Regions from separate parts of the Homo sapiens genome. Here region 2 is linked to region 1. Evidence: promoter capture Hi-C in 16 types of primary human blood cells and fetal thymus (Javierre and others, 2016). All regions are on one chromosome and are shown on one strand. Each heading gives the region's core, a stretch centred on a gene start or on the middle of the fragment in contact. The rest is flanking DNA. Distances are from core to core; before and after follow the strand shown. Region 1 holds the start of ZRANB2-AS1 (ZRANB2 antisense RNA 1). Region 2 has its middle 73 kb from the start of LINC01788.

Region 1 (6,945 bases), core at 2,881-5,380:
TAATCTTATTTTGTATCCATATTTAAGATTTTTAAATAGATGTTTAATAGAAGTAAATAGCAAAATAAATTCATCATCACTAGCTAAATATTGACATACATTATACATTTTAAGCTGTAGGGTACAATTAAGTAATCTGTGAATTTAAAACATGTCCAGGTTAGAATTTCATTGAAAACATAATAGGTGAATATATACTTTAAATTAAAAAAAAATGAATATCTGGTCTTTCAGTTTAATCCTCTACTGGTTTATTGACTGTTAAACAAAGTTGCCAATTTGTAACCTCAAAGGAAAACAAAGTGACCACAATTATGTACTGATAAGTAGATCTCTAGGAAAGAAATCAGAGATTCCCTAAGCAAAGCATCCATTGGCCCTATGGAAATTCTCTTTAAAACAGCATAAAGCATGTTATTAGCCTTTTGGTCACTAGAGGGTGGTGTTGTTTCAGACCAACACAATTCACACTATATCCGTAGTAACTGACCAGAAAGTACCAACCAGAATCCAACTGCCAGCTTCACACTGTTACTCCACAAAACCTCACAGTCACTTGTTTACAAGGTGAATAGCTAAAGGCAGACAATATAGGATGAAGCAAAGTGCTGAAAGAAGAGAAATACCCAAATTATCTGAAATGCAACACATTTTGTTCATTGGCATAGAGGTTAGTGAGAGGCTAACAATTCTTTACTAATACATGCCCCGACGCTTACCATGCTTATCAAGTCCAATTGGCTACAGCAAGCACTTCAGTGGGAGAAGTAAAAGTTTCAAAGAAGTCAAATATTTGTGAATAAAAATGAGAATAGTTTTTGATGTAACTGGAAAAAGATAAGCCTTGCTTCCTTTGCTGTGTGAATGGTGATATGGTCTTAAATTTTAAATATTGAATTACACTAGAATTTTACTAACTATAGATGGTATAAACTTGATAGCCACTTTCATCCAAATGCTTTGGATAAAGCTTTGTCTAAGAATAACCTCAAATATTATTTTATTTTCAAATGATATTAGGCTAGAAAAATACTATCCCAAATACAGGTTTGAGATTAATTCAAAATAATAAGACAAAAGTTTACGGAAGATTTTAGAATCAAACCATTTCACCCTTCCTAGCTGTTGTTCCCATTGTAAACGTGACATTTTAGTCAGTAAAACGCAAAAGTGCAAAACATTTTTAAATGACAGCAAAACACAAAATGAAATTCATGTTGTGATTAATGCATCTTATTAAAATGGAGTTTAAGTTGCATTCTTGCTTTTCCTTCTTTAAAAAACATATAATGTTATAGTGATATTTTTTCAAACTCTCATACAGAATCAAGACAACAGCACATAAAGTATGCAGAGGGACATATCCCATTCTTACCTCTTAACAGTAATTTAAAAGTTAAGAACACCCATACAGAACATCAGCTAAGCTAGGAAAGGCAAAACTGATTGGGCTTGTTCTGAAAGTTGATCTGTGTCAATCAAAATAATGGTCTTTAGAGTGCTATATGATTAAGTCTAATTTCTTAAATATGAGGAAAAATGAACTTTGCAATTATTTTTAAAAATCTTTTCATCTCTTAGACAGTGTAAAAAGGCAAAAAGCAAAAAACACAAGACTTTCCCAAGATTAGGGGAAGATGATCTCACCGTTAATATTCATCTGCTGAGAGCAGTTATGGGACCCATGTCAGGAATACATGCTTCAAATAAGATGGGACTTGAGAATTGCTGAGAGACTTCAGGAACATTCTTTAACTTCATGGGGCCTCAGTTACCCCACCTTTAAGGGAAATAATAATAGCAATAGTACCTTGGAGGATTTCTGTGATAAAATGAGAAAATGCTTGTGAGAAGTACATAAAATATTGGCTTACTGAAAGATGTTACGAGGCAAGCAAGTATGCCTATTTTCATTCAATGTTTATTATTTCAAAGGCAAAGTTTCCATATAGATTAAGGCCTTCATAACATCTGAATACCTTTTCTAGTTCTTATTGTATGAAGATAAGAAGGATGGTTGGAGGCTTTGTAAGGAATACCTTTCTCTTCTGCTCCCCTCTCACTCCCATAGGCTGGGAGCAGTTGATTTCACTACCTCAGATATGCAAATTGATGCCACCTTCCTGTAGCCACTTTTGCCATAGCTGACCTTTTTGTTGGGTGGTGGGGAGGGGAGCGGGCAGGATTAGGCGAGGGGTAGTAGTTGGGATTTCTTGGTCTTGGAATTCAACCATCCGATGTATTTGTTTCCCTGTGTCTATTCCCTTAAGTCTACAGGCACTGTCTAGTAATTTTATAGTTTTCAGCGGCACCCCAGGGGACAGGACACCTTGGCCTTTTTATAATCACTCTAGAGTCACAAAGCAGAAAGGAAAAAAGTTAACGATCAGCTATGCAAAGGCTTGTGTGGATTGCTTAAGGACAGGCGATTTTCACTTTACCAGAGTTACTAAAGGACTTCAGGAGAAGGATCCCGTCCCTGTAGGAGCGTTTGTGGTTGAAGAAGCAGGAGGACGAGCGCTCAGGTGCGCCTCGGCAGTTTGCCTGGGGTCCGCAAGTCCAGTGCTACTTATTAGCTGCTTGCCGTCCACCGACACTTTAGCGGAGAACTGGAGGAGACCCCAGTGGGCTCCCGGTCCGGCCAGGAGCAGGGCGTTTCAGAGGAGACCGTCTGGGGCTTCCCAACCCAGGCGATCAGGATAGGCAACAGCCAAGAGAGGCGCTCAGTTGCTTTGCACCCTCCTCCCACCTCGGTTCTGTCCACACCCACGGGCGCCCCGCCCCCTCGGCCTTATAAAGGGGACTCGGCACCTCCGCGCGCCTCGCCACCAGAGGTTTCCCAGAGAGGAAGGCGTGGCTCCCTCCCGGGCCAGTGAGCCCTGGCGCCGCCGCGGCCGCGGTCCCAGCAGCGGAGTAGGGCGGCGGCTGCGCCCCGCACCATGGGGGGCAGCCCAGCCCCAGCCGCGGTAAACGCCGACCTCCGCCGCCGCCCGCGCCGCGTCTGCCCCCTCCCGCTGCGGCTCTCTGGACGCCATCCCCTCCTCACCTCGAAGCCAACATGAAGGAGACCCGGGGCTACGGAGGGGATGCCCCCTTCTGCACCCGCCTCAACCACTCCTACACAGGCATGTGGGCGCCCGAGCGTTCCGCCGAGGCGCGGGGCAACCTCACGCGCCCTCCAGGGTCTGGCGAGGATTGCGGATCGGTGTCCGTGGCCTTCCCGATCACCATGCTGCTCACTGGTTTCGTGGGCAACGCACTGGCCATGCTGCTCGTGTCGCGCAGCTACCGGCGCCGGGAGAGCAAGCGCAAGAAGTCCTTCCTGCTGTGCATCGGCTGGCTGGCGCTCACCGACCTGGTCGGGCAGCTTCTCACCACCCCGGTCGTCATCGTCGTGTACCTGTCCAAGCAGCGTTGGGAGCACATCGACCCGTCGGGGCGGCTCTGCACCTTTTTCGGGCTGACCATGACTGTTTTCGGGCTCTCCTCGTTGTTCATCGCCAGCGCCATGGCCGTCGAGCGGGCGCTGGCCATCAGGGCGCCGCACTGGTATGCGAGCCACATGAAGACGCGTGCCACCCGCGCTGTGCTGCTCGGCGTGTGGCTGGCCGTGCTCGCCTTCGCCCTGCTGCCGGTGCTGGGCGTGGGCCAGTACACCGTCCAGTGGCCCGGGACGTGGTGCTTCATCAGCACCGGGCGAGGGGGCAACGGGACTAGCTCTTCGCATAACTGGGGCAACCTTTTCTTCGCCTCTGCCTTTGCCTTCCTGGGGCTCTTGGCGCTGACAGTCACCTTTTCCTGCAACCTGGCCACCATTAAGGCCCTGGTGTCCCGCTGCCGGGCCAAGGCCACGGCATCTCAGTCCAGTGCCCAGTGGGGCCGCATCACGACCGAGACGGCCATTCAGCTTATGGGGATCATGTGCGTGCTGTCGGTCTGCTGGTCTCCGCTCCTGGTAGGTAGTTCCAGGGTTGGGGGAAGTCAGGATGCGTGTGCGAGTAAGCGGGAACCTAAGACTTTGCTAAGTGGCAGCACCCGCAGGGGTGTGTTTGCAACCGCAGAGCGCTGAAGTGTCCTTTCCTCCTGCCCGCGCGGTCTTGGTTACAGCTTCAGAGCTGAGCTCCTCACTTACTAGCTGAGCGCCTTCCAAGAGCCAGGATTCGCATTAGGCACTGTTTATGAGCACATAGAGATCACAGGGCTGCTCACATTCTAGTCGGGTAGGAGACAGGATGTGTCATTGAAATGACATATATGCAGAGCTAGAAGTTTGTCCTGAGTGCATTAAAAGCAGAATTGCTATGATAACTGTAGCCTGATATTGTGGGGTTTTTTTTTTTTTTTTTTTTTGAGACGGAGTCTCGCTCTGTCACCCAGGCTGGAGTACAGTGGCGCAGCCTCGGCTCACTGCAAGCTCCGCCTCCCGGGTTCACGCCATTCTCCTGCCTCAGCCTCTCCGAGTAGCTGGGACTACAGGCGCCCGCCACCACGCCCGGCTAATTTTTTTTTTTTATTTTTAGTAGAGACGGGGTTTCACCGTGGTCTCGATCTCCTGACCTCGTGATCCACCCGCCTCGGCCTCCCAAAGTGCTGGGATTACAAGCGTGAGCCACCGCGCCCGGCCGGGTTTTTTTTTTTTAATTTCAAATTCCTCTTTCACGTTAATAAGATTTTCAGTCTGCAACCCCATACAGTCACAGCCCTCCTGCAGCTTCTGAAAGACTGCGCGACCTATGGGTGCCTTCAAGGTTCATTCTTGATGAGGCAGGAGAATGAAAGATACGAGTTGCCTCCTCAGCCTTTCGCCATGGTGCTTGACCCTCTAGGAAGTGCCCGAACGACAGTCAGTGGGATCCGGAAGCTCAGCAGCTTCTTCAGGCCAGCATTTACTTACCCTTGTAGCACTCAAGCAGGGTTCGCTAATCCTGAGATAGGAGGTAGAGGTTTCTCCATGTCCTAGCTCCTCACACCAGAGCAATGCAGAGGAGCAAGGGATGTTTGCAGAGGCTCTTTGCCTAACACCTGCCCTTACGTGATATTTTTGAGGTTTTTTTGTCTGTGTTACTTTTAGCTAGAAATGTCCGTGTGTAAGTGCTGTTTACTAATTCCTGAAGAATGGATGCTTACTTAGGCCCTGGGGTGTCTGGGTTAATAGATGTTGCAGAAAGAGCGATATGGTCACTGTTACAAAGGTATAACCAACTATATGTATTATACAGTTGTGGAAAACCTTTGAAACACGTGAACGCAGTTTTTTTTCTTTCCTAATTATGGTAAAATATATTACATACAATTCAGTATTTTAACCATTATTATGTGTACAGTTCAGTGGCATTAGGCATTAAGTACGTTGAGTTTTTTGTGCGCCATGTATACTTTTAAATCCCTTGCATTTGAAAATAGAAATGTAATTTCTTTAACCTGGTTTGGTAGATTGGAGCACAAACCTTGGCTCCAAATCAGTGACATGAGGGGACAAGGAGTGTTATGCTGAGACCTAACTGCCCACAAGTCGCTGTATGGTCACAGTTCTTTATTCCAGGAGTTGGAACTCAGGCTGATGTCATCACTATGGCTTATCAAAACCAGCACCAGTTTTAGATATACAGTATTTACTTTTATGGCTGAGGAATGGAGTGTACAGGTGGCCAACTAGGAAGGAAGAAAGAGTTCTAAATAGTAAACACTTTACTAAAGTGTGGTAATTAATATAACTTTAAAGGCAAACAGGGTATCAGTTTTTCACAAGTGTCATTTGAGTCCCACATCTTTGAGTTTGCTGTATCACATGATTTATATCCTAGGGAAAAAAAATGCAGTTAAATCAATTGAACAAAATACCCATACAGTTAATCAGACTTATAATTTATTGTTTGTGCATTTTGTTTTTAAGTCAAAGCGAAGCCATGTAGTGTGTTTTTGATTTAGACACTTTAATTCTAGTACCAAAAGTATGGTGGCCTCAGAAAGAAAGTAGATCAATCTTGAAAACTGTAATTTAGGATGGCCAAACTCACTCTTTCAAGAAAGACTGCATTTGAAACTAGTCTTACTTAATTTCAATTTATTTTCATTTGGATAATACTTATTGATTTATAGCATTTTACTGGGTACTTTATTAATTCAATTATAAAAACATTAAACAAAATAAATTAAACATGTGATCATATCAAAAAGGAGAATTTTTTTTTTTTTTGAGACTCTGTCTCAAAAAAAAAAACTCCAGGCTGGAGTGCAGTGGTGAGATCTCAGCTCTCTGCAGCCTCCACCTCCCAGGTGCAAGTGATTCTACTGCCTCAGCCTTTGGAGTCACTAGGATTACAGGCGCCCGCCACCACACCTGGCTAATTTTTGTATTTTTAGTAGAGATGGGGTTTCACCATGTTGGCCAGGCTGGTCTCGAACTCCTGACCTGAGGTGATCCGCCCACCTCGGCCACCCAAAGTGCTGGGATTACAGGCATGAGCCACCGTGCCCGGCCTAGGAGAAATGAGAACTTTTTAAAGAAAATGGTTCCATCGGCTGGGCGCAGTGGCTCACGCCTGTAATCCCAGCACTTTGGGAGGCCGAGGTGAGTGGATCATTTGAGGTCAGCAGTTCGAGACCAGCATTCCAACATGGCCAAACCCCGCCTCTACTAAAAATACAAAAATTAGCGGGGCATGGTGGCATGCGCCTGTAATCTCAGTTACTCGGGAGGCTGATGCAGGAGAATTACTTAGGCTAGGGAGACAGAGGTTGCTGTGAGCCGAGATCACGCCACTGCACTCCAGCACGGGTGACAGAGCAGGACTCCCTCTAAAAAAAAAACAAAAAACAAAAAAAAAACTCCAAATATCTTCAAAAAGATTTACTGTACAAAGTTGGAATTACTACAAAGAAAAGAAACTGGCAAAGCTGCTTTCTTAATAGAGAATTATAAGAATAAAAACACTAGAATTTAGT
Region 2 (6,945 bases), core at 2,671-5,170, 410 kb after region 1:
AAAATGAATACCTCAGATTTTCTGCCTTTGAGGTGTTTGCAGTCCTGTGGAGGTGTTAAAAATGTGAACAGTTTACAGGACAAATGGTAAGTTCTATAATGAAGCAAGAAGAAAGTATTCTGAACACAGAGGAAAGAGCAGCTAAGGTATCAGAAGAAAGAAGGATAGTTGCTCAGAGAAACAGGCATTTGAGCTGGCACATAAGGTCTCTTTTTTCTGATTCTACTCCACCAAACATTTGGCCAACTCCAAGATATATAAATAAGACAGGTTAAAGACTTCCATTTTCCAAATATTCAATATAGAAAACATAATATCAATAAAGTAAATTTGCTGAGTCTCAGGAAAATAATTTCTCATGTTTAATAACCCAATTATGTCATTATATGTTTTCCTGTGTTTTTCCCCATAATACTGTTCTATATCGATCAACTATTAAAACACACTAATACAGTAAACCTTTATGTGCTGATAGTGCTTGAGTCAGCAGTTGAAGTCCTGTGGCTTCTATTAAATATTAGCTATAAAGAAGAACATCATGGTGACTTTTCAATGAAGGGCAGAAAAAAATTCAGAGTTAAGAGAGTAAGAAGAATGTATGAACACTTAGAACAGTCTGTAAATTGTGCTTCCCTCAGGAAAAGGGGCCATTGACTATTGCAGCAATAGTTACCAAACTTGCTCTAAATCAAAATTATCTGAGAGATTTTTAAAACATGTATCCCTTGGCTCCTCACCCCCAGGTGAATCAAATCTGTAGGATAAAACTGAGGAGTCCTTTAAAAAGACAGAAGATGCACATTGATGGATCCTTGCATAATACATTAATGTAACTACATAATAAAGAGTACTCAGAAATAGAAGTTAAAAGATTTGTGTTCTACCACCAGGTTCTGCTCTAATTAGAAAGCTGCCCGCAAGTATGCCAAGTAATTCCAATAACTTAACCTCTTTCAATCTATTATCCTCCTGATATGACTCATAAAGTCATTTTCAGAATGAAAGGCAATCATAGATGAGAAGACACTTTAAAAGATTTTAAAATGTGAACCTAAAATATCATTAACACATACTAGAGGAGATGAGATAGAACACAGACCCTTCTAAGTAATGCTTTACAAGGAATTCTGGCAGCCATAATTCCCCTCGATGGCTAAACCTGTCATAAGAAGAGTCTTTTGAGGGATGACTGCGAGGTTAATTTTGAGGCAGAATATGGTAAAAAGTTTTTATCCATAATACTTCCCATTCCCGACAATTATTGCTTCTGAAAGGTCACTTTTGAAAGGTCAGGAAATGGAAATACATGCATCAGAACAGACTGAAAACAGAGAATCTCCTTTCCCATAAATTCTACAAATGAGTACTTCAAGGTCCCAATGAGAAAAGACCTTTAAACTCCTTCTGCCTCCTACATCAGGATAATAACTGTGGAAAGGAGGAGAAGTACAGATCTTATTTTAAAGAGACAATGGTGCCTGTAGGGACAAGGAGAAGAATAGTGTTATACTTTCCCACAAATGCTTGATAATTTCAGCAGGAAAGCATGTTATCTAATTATAATATAGATGAAGGGCCAGCTTTCAGAACATTTGAGAAGCAAAGGTGTATTCATATCCTCCCTCTCTTCTTTCCTATCTGTTTTTCCCTTTATGGAGACTCCATGGGCACAGAGTGACACTGGGTTACCCCAGCTGCCCACAGCAACATATTGTGATGTACATAGAGCACCACCCATTCTTCTCCAGCTTACTCAATCCCCTTGCTATCATACTCAGCAAGACAGAAAGCAAAATAAACTAAAACAGACAACAAACAAACAAATAAACAGTATTGGCCCAGCTAGAGTGTTACAATCTGTTTGCGATTGAGAAAAAGGGATATGAAGAGCCAGTGTGGGAAATGTATGGGGGACACATCAGGTGGCAAGTGGAAGGTTTGGCTTTAGGTTATGGTAGAAGAGGTTCAGTGTCGTGAGAGAAAAAGAGGAGCATATGTATAGGAAGGAGGTTACAGTGAAAATTCAGTAGTGGAGAGATAAACTAGTTGTATTATGGTGGTTATTTCCTCAAGAAATTCATGAGTTCACCACAGGGGAGTAGAAAATGCATAACTGATATTGGGGAGTTAATGGAGAAGTAAGGTGTGAAAGCACTTCAGAGATGGAAAGCAAACTTGTTAGGGAACTCTGAGGAGATGGCTGGATAGTTCTGAGGCCCCACTTGAGATTTGTTGTCATAGACTCAAAGTGAGATCAATTGGCAAATGTATGCCTCCGTAACTGCAGCCATTTTCCAGGCTGATTAGAAACAGTCTGCAGTGAGCAGAGAATTTGTTTTGTCAGTCAAGTGAAATGGAAGGAAAGAGCAACAAACAGCTACAGTCAATTATAATGATTGTGACAGACTTTGGAGAGCAGAAAAGTAGGAAGGAGGAACAACTGAAAACTAAAAAGTGTTGAGATCAGTGAGTTCTTCATGGAGTAATAAAGTGTTCAAATGGACCTATTGGAGTAAGGGAGCTCCAAGGGGAAGGGGCAGTGAAGAAATGAGTAAATTAAAATTGAGATTTCAGAGGTGATTAAGTTATTAAGTCATATTTAACAAACTTTTAGATCACAATCCTCAGAAAGGAATTTTACATAGACATTAAATGTACATACACAAGCGTTCACAAAACAATACTTACACTTAAATGCACTCTGATACCTGATATGTTTAATTCTGATCCATTCTTATTTAAAATGTTGTTGCTAAATTATTAAGACCCACTAATAGGTCCCAATCTGGAGCCTGAAAAACACTGGTCTGGAATAAGTCCATTGCGGGTAGCTCAAGTGGGATAGAACAAAAGAACTAAGGAAGTCACGGACCTCAGAGGCCAGAGTGTTGAACTGACCATTTTCACTGATATCGAAGTTGCCAAAATAATGATAGATGTAGTGGAATAAAACAATTAGCCACATGTGAAAATTTTACACTTGATCTTAGCCAAAAGGCCAAGAAGTGATGCAGATGCGAAAGCTTTCTAATGGTTAATTGTTTCAATAAAAATAATCTTCATAATAAATGAATGAGTTAATTAATTATACATTGCCCTTTATCCACTTCTAATCCTTTTTAAACATTGGTATGAGTAAATACATTAAAATTAATTAGTTAATTATTTTGATGTTCATTCATTTAACAAATGTTTGAGATCCTTCTTTGGGGAAAAATGACTTGATTTCTGTATTTCTATTCTTATGTACTTTGTAGTCTAGTGTGTGATACAGACATTGAACAAATAAACATATTAATAAATACAGAGTTACAGCTTGCAATAACAGCTCTCTGCTGTGAGAGATAACATGGAATAGGGAAATAGATGTCTCAAAAATCCTCTTTGAATAAATGATGTATTAGCTGAATCCCAAAAAGATGAGTAAGGGATGATCATGAGAGAATTAGCAAATCTCTTTATCTTTCTGTATTTTAGCATCTTTATCTTTGAAATAAGAGTAAAGTAATAGCAAATAACCATGTAGTAGTGTATATTTCAAGAGAGCTAGAAAAGATGATTTTGATTGTTGTCACCACAAAGAAATGATAAGTGTTTAAAATGATGGCTATGTTAATTATTCCTATTTCATTATTATACAATGTATACATGCATTGAAACATCACACTGTACCCCATAAATATGTACATTACTATGCATCATTTATAAAGTTACAAATTTATTTTTAAAATTTTTCAAAAAATTAAATAGAATCTCAGGGTGGGATGGAGCCTTAAAGTCCATCAAATCCAACAACCCTTTCAATTCTTGAATGTTTTTTAAGTATTTCTGCCCAAATGTCAATATTGTGGTGAACTTGCTCTCTTTCAAGGGACCATAATGGGAACCTTTCCTATTTTTACTTTAGATATTTTTCTTACACACTCATTCATTCAACCCTCACAACTACCCTGTGAAAAGTAATGTCATCTCTAATTTGTAGAGGAGAAGAACAAATGGGGTTGGAACAAATGGGGTTGGCCTTGATACACAATGGTACTAGTAACCACCACTTCCCAATTAATCCTTTGGGCTGTTAATAATGGCAGCATTTTTCCCTGATGCACCAATACACACTAGCAGCTGGTTAGGATGAAGGGGCAGCTGCAGGGTCATGGGACAGTATCTTAGAGTAACCATCTGGTACTGCTCCAGCCTGAACTCACATCTATGACCTCATTTGCTTCGTGTCCTAGCCAAGTCAGTGATAGATGTTTTATTCCTTACTTGACCTTGTTCTTTCAGTCAATCCCTGTTGAGTGCCCCTAGCTGCTAAATGTGAGAATAAAGAGATAGGGTTATAATCCATCTTCTCTTTAAGGGCCTACAGATTAATCAAGGAAAGAGAAAAACCAAGCAGAATTTTCCACACCATATGTTGTAAAAAGTGCAATGATAAAAGTAAGTACATACAGGCCGCTAAGGTAGCAGAGAGAAGGGGCATATACACAATTTTCTAGTTCTAGGGGTGAAAGCAGTGTTTTACAATCACAAACACATGTCGGCTTTTGATAAACATTTAAATTTCTAGCTCCTCCCATAAGAAAAAAAAAAAGAAAAGAAAAACAGTTCTAGGAAACCCCAAAGGAGCTTGCCTCCATTGAAAATTGCAATGCTTGGTTTTCCTAGCAGCATTTACTTTTTGTAACTTGAGTTACACTAAAAATATAATTTTTTGTTTTCCAAATTTAAAAAAAAGTTGATTATACTTAATATATTTTTAAACTACCTGACCCACCATCACACCATATTTCCAATAGATAATTCCACTAAGCTTCTGTGGCAGGAGAATCTCATGTGTCCTCTTGCTAATGATACCTCCTGGAGAATCACTGCAGATGTCAAAGAAACAGCAACAGAAGAAGTAGCACTTGAACCAGTGATTTTCAACCTTGACTGATCCTTAGAGGTTTCAGGAGCACATTTAAAATATTTCAATACCCTATTCCACAACAGAGCAAATGAAATCAGAATGGTGGGGTGAAATGTATACAATTATGATTTGTCAAACAAAAATAATATTAATGATAAAATAAACATTTTTTAAAAGAAAGAAAGAATGAATGTTGGGATGAGGGTGGTGCCAGGAAAGGGTGTTGGATTTTTTTAACACCCTTGCTGATTTTAATGTGCAGCCGAGATTGAAAAACACTGATGGAAATATAAGGCTAGTTTTTTTCTTCAGTTGGTTCTTGGAATTTTCCCAGTGGTTCTCAGACTCTCCTGATTTGATTCACCTTGGGAGAAGTTATTCATTTCTACTTACAGCTGTCATTACCTCATTGATAATCTATGGCAATTACCATCTGTCTGATCTCTTTATTGTACATCTCTCTACCTGCACCTGGCTGTTCATTTATTCATTTATTCAATACAGCAGTCAACAATTCAATATCAATTGGGCACCTGCGTTCTGTACAAGGCAGTGCTAACAACATATAATGATGAAAGTCACAGTCACTAACCTTTGAGACTCCCAGCCTAAGAGGAAAGGCAAAAAAATATAACAGCAGGATTAAACTCTGATAGAATATGGGAAGTATGTACAAGGAGGTATAGGGGCACAGGAGGGAAGCATTAACTGTACCTGGGCAAGGAATTAAAAGGACACCTCAGGCTTACCAAAGGAAATGATGCATCAGCTGAGTATTATCAAAAGTGGACATGGGTTGCCAATCATCAGTGCCCTAAATGTCAACAGGAAAAACCTGTAGATCAAGCAAAGCTAAACCTGCTAGACTTCCTGCAGTAAAAGATAAAACGGGCTCAACAAAGCCTTAGTAGTGAAGGCAGAAGAAGATGGAGGATTTTGAGACCTGGGCTTGATGACTTTAAGGTAGGTTTAGCAAGAGAGAAACTAGACGGAAATGGGATGAGTTTATTACATAATGATGGTGGACTGGTTTTGAAGTCAATCTAGGGGATGCCCATTTGTCTTGGTAAGTAAATTATTTTAGCTAGTTTTATAGTTTTATATTCCAGGCATATATATTTCCTGAAGCAAACAGCTAATTATTTTTGTTTGTTCTCAGTGTTATAGAAAATATACCCAGTCACAGTATTGTCTACCAAGTGTTAGGTTCTGATTGAGGTCTGAGGGGAGTCAGTGGGGCAGCGGGTAGCTGGAAAAATACTTGAGGAGTTGTAGACAATTTTGACATGGCTTTACTCTATCTCTGGGCACAAGTGAGCCTGGATGCAAGCCGTAGTCTGGGCGTGAGCAAGCATGGGTGTGAGCCTAGGTGCAAGCCTACCCAGGCACAAACCACATGTACAGCATCAGCAGGGTAATTAGACCTTTTATAGACAATAGTGGCTCCGAACCAAGCATGAGCTTATGTGAGTGGTTACATAATGCACCCCGCATGGCGTAGTTACATAATGTGCAGAGTTGTGTGCCTGCACACTGAACTCATTGAGTCATGCTAGACTGGATACCTGCCTCAGCCTATTCTTGACCACAGTACATCCATTTTCCTTACAGTCCACCTCCTAGGCCGAGGGAGGCATAGGTCTTGAACATACAGGTCTTGGACACATCAGTTTTGAGTACACAGGCCCAGCACAGGCTTGACACATAGGTCTGACACATAGGCCCTGGGCACACAGGCCTGATACACAGGCCCCAGACACACAGGTCCGACATATGTGGGCAACCACCCCATGGTGACGTTACCCCAATGTTGCTTTATATATTAAGCCAGGATTTTTGTTCCCCTACCTTTAGGGGCAATGGGGGAGACAATAACAGGTTACCATTCATCCCTATACCTGGTCGGATGAGGTCATCCTTTCTCCCATAGGTCTTGCCACATGGCCTGCTCCCACATGGGCTGGTGATCAACTAGCCAATTCTGTAACTTCCAGGTAGTTAACCACAAGGTTAAACCTTAATAAACTGCCCAG

Evidence for each region. Contacts are between HindIII fragments. The CHiCAGO score rates a contact against its expected background, and 5 or more counts as called.
Region 2: a contact is called between a fragment that was not itself captured here and the fragment with the promoter of ZRANB2-AS1 in region 1, in 1 of 17 cell types (erythroblasts). The highest score is 6.5, in erythroblasts.

Annotation. Positions count from the first base shown.
Region 1 is chr1:71,043,691-71,050,635 of GRCh38, reverse strand. ZRANB2-AS1 (ZRANB2 antisense RNA 1) reads right to left here and starts at 4,130. Exons shown (of 3, transcript NR_038420.1): 1 at 3,047-4,130; 2 at 1,648-1,822. It overlaps PTGER3 (prostaglandin E receptor 3), which reads left to right and starts at 2,820. Exons shown (of 4, transcript NM_198719.2): 1 at 2,820-3,955. The coding sequence starts at 3,059. RefSeq lists an enhancer at 2,823-3,406. The HindIII fragment of the contact is 6,286 bases long and covers 973-6,945 here.
Region 2 is chr1:70,630,453-70,637,397 of GRCh38, reverse strand. No RefSeq gene overlaps it. Among named protein-coding and RNA genes, the nearest start is that of LINC01788, 73 kb to the left of the region's middle. The HindIII fragment of the contact is 1,790 bases long and covers 3,026-4,815 here.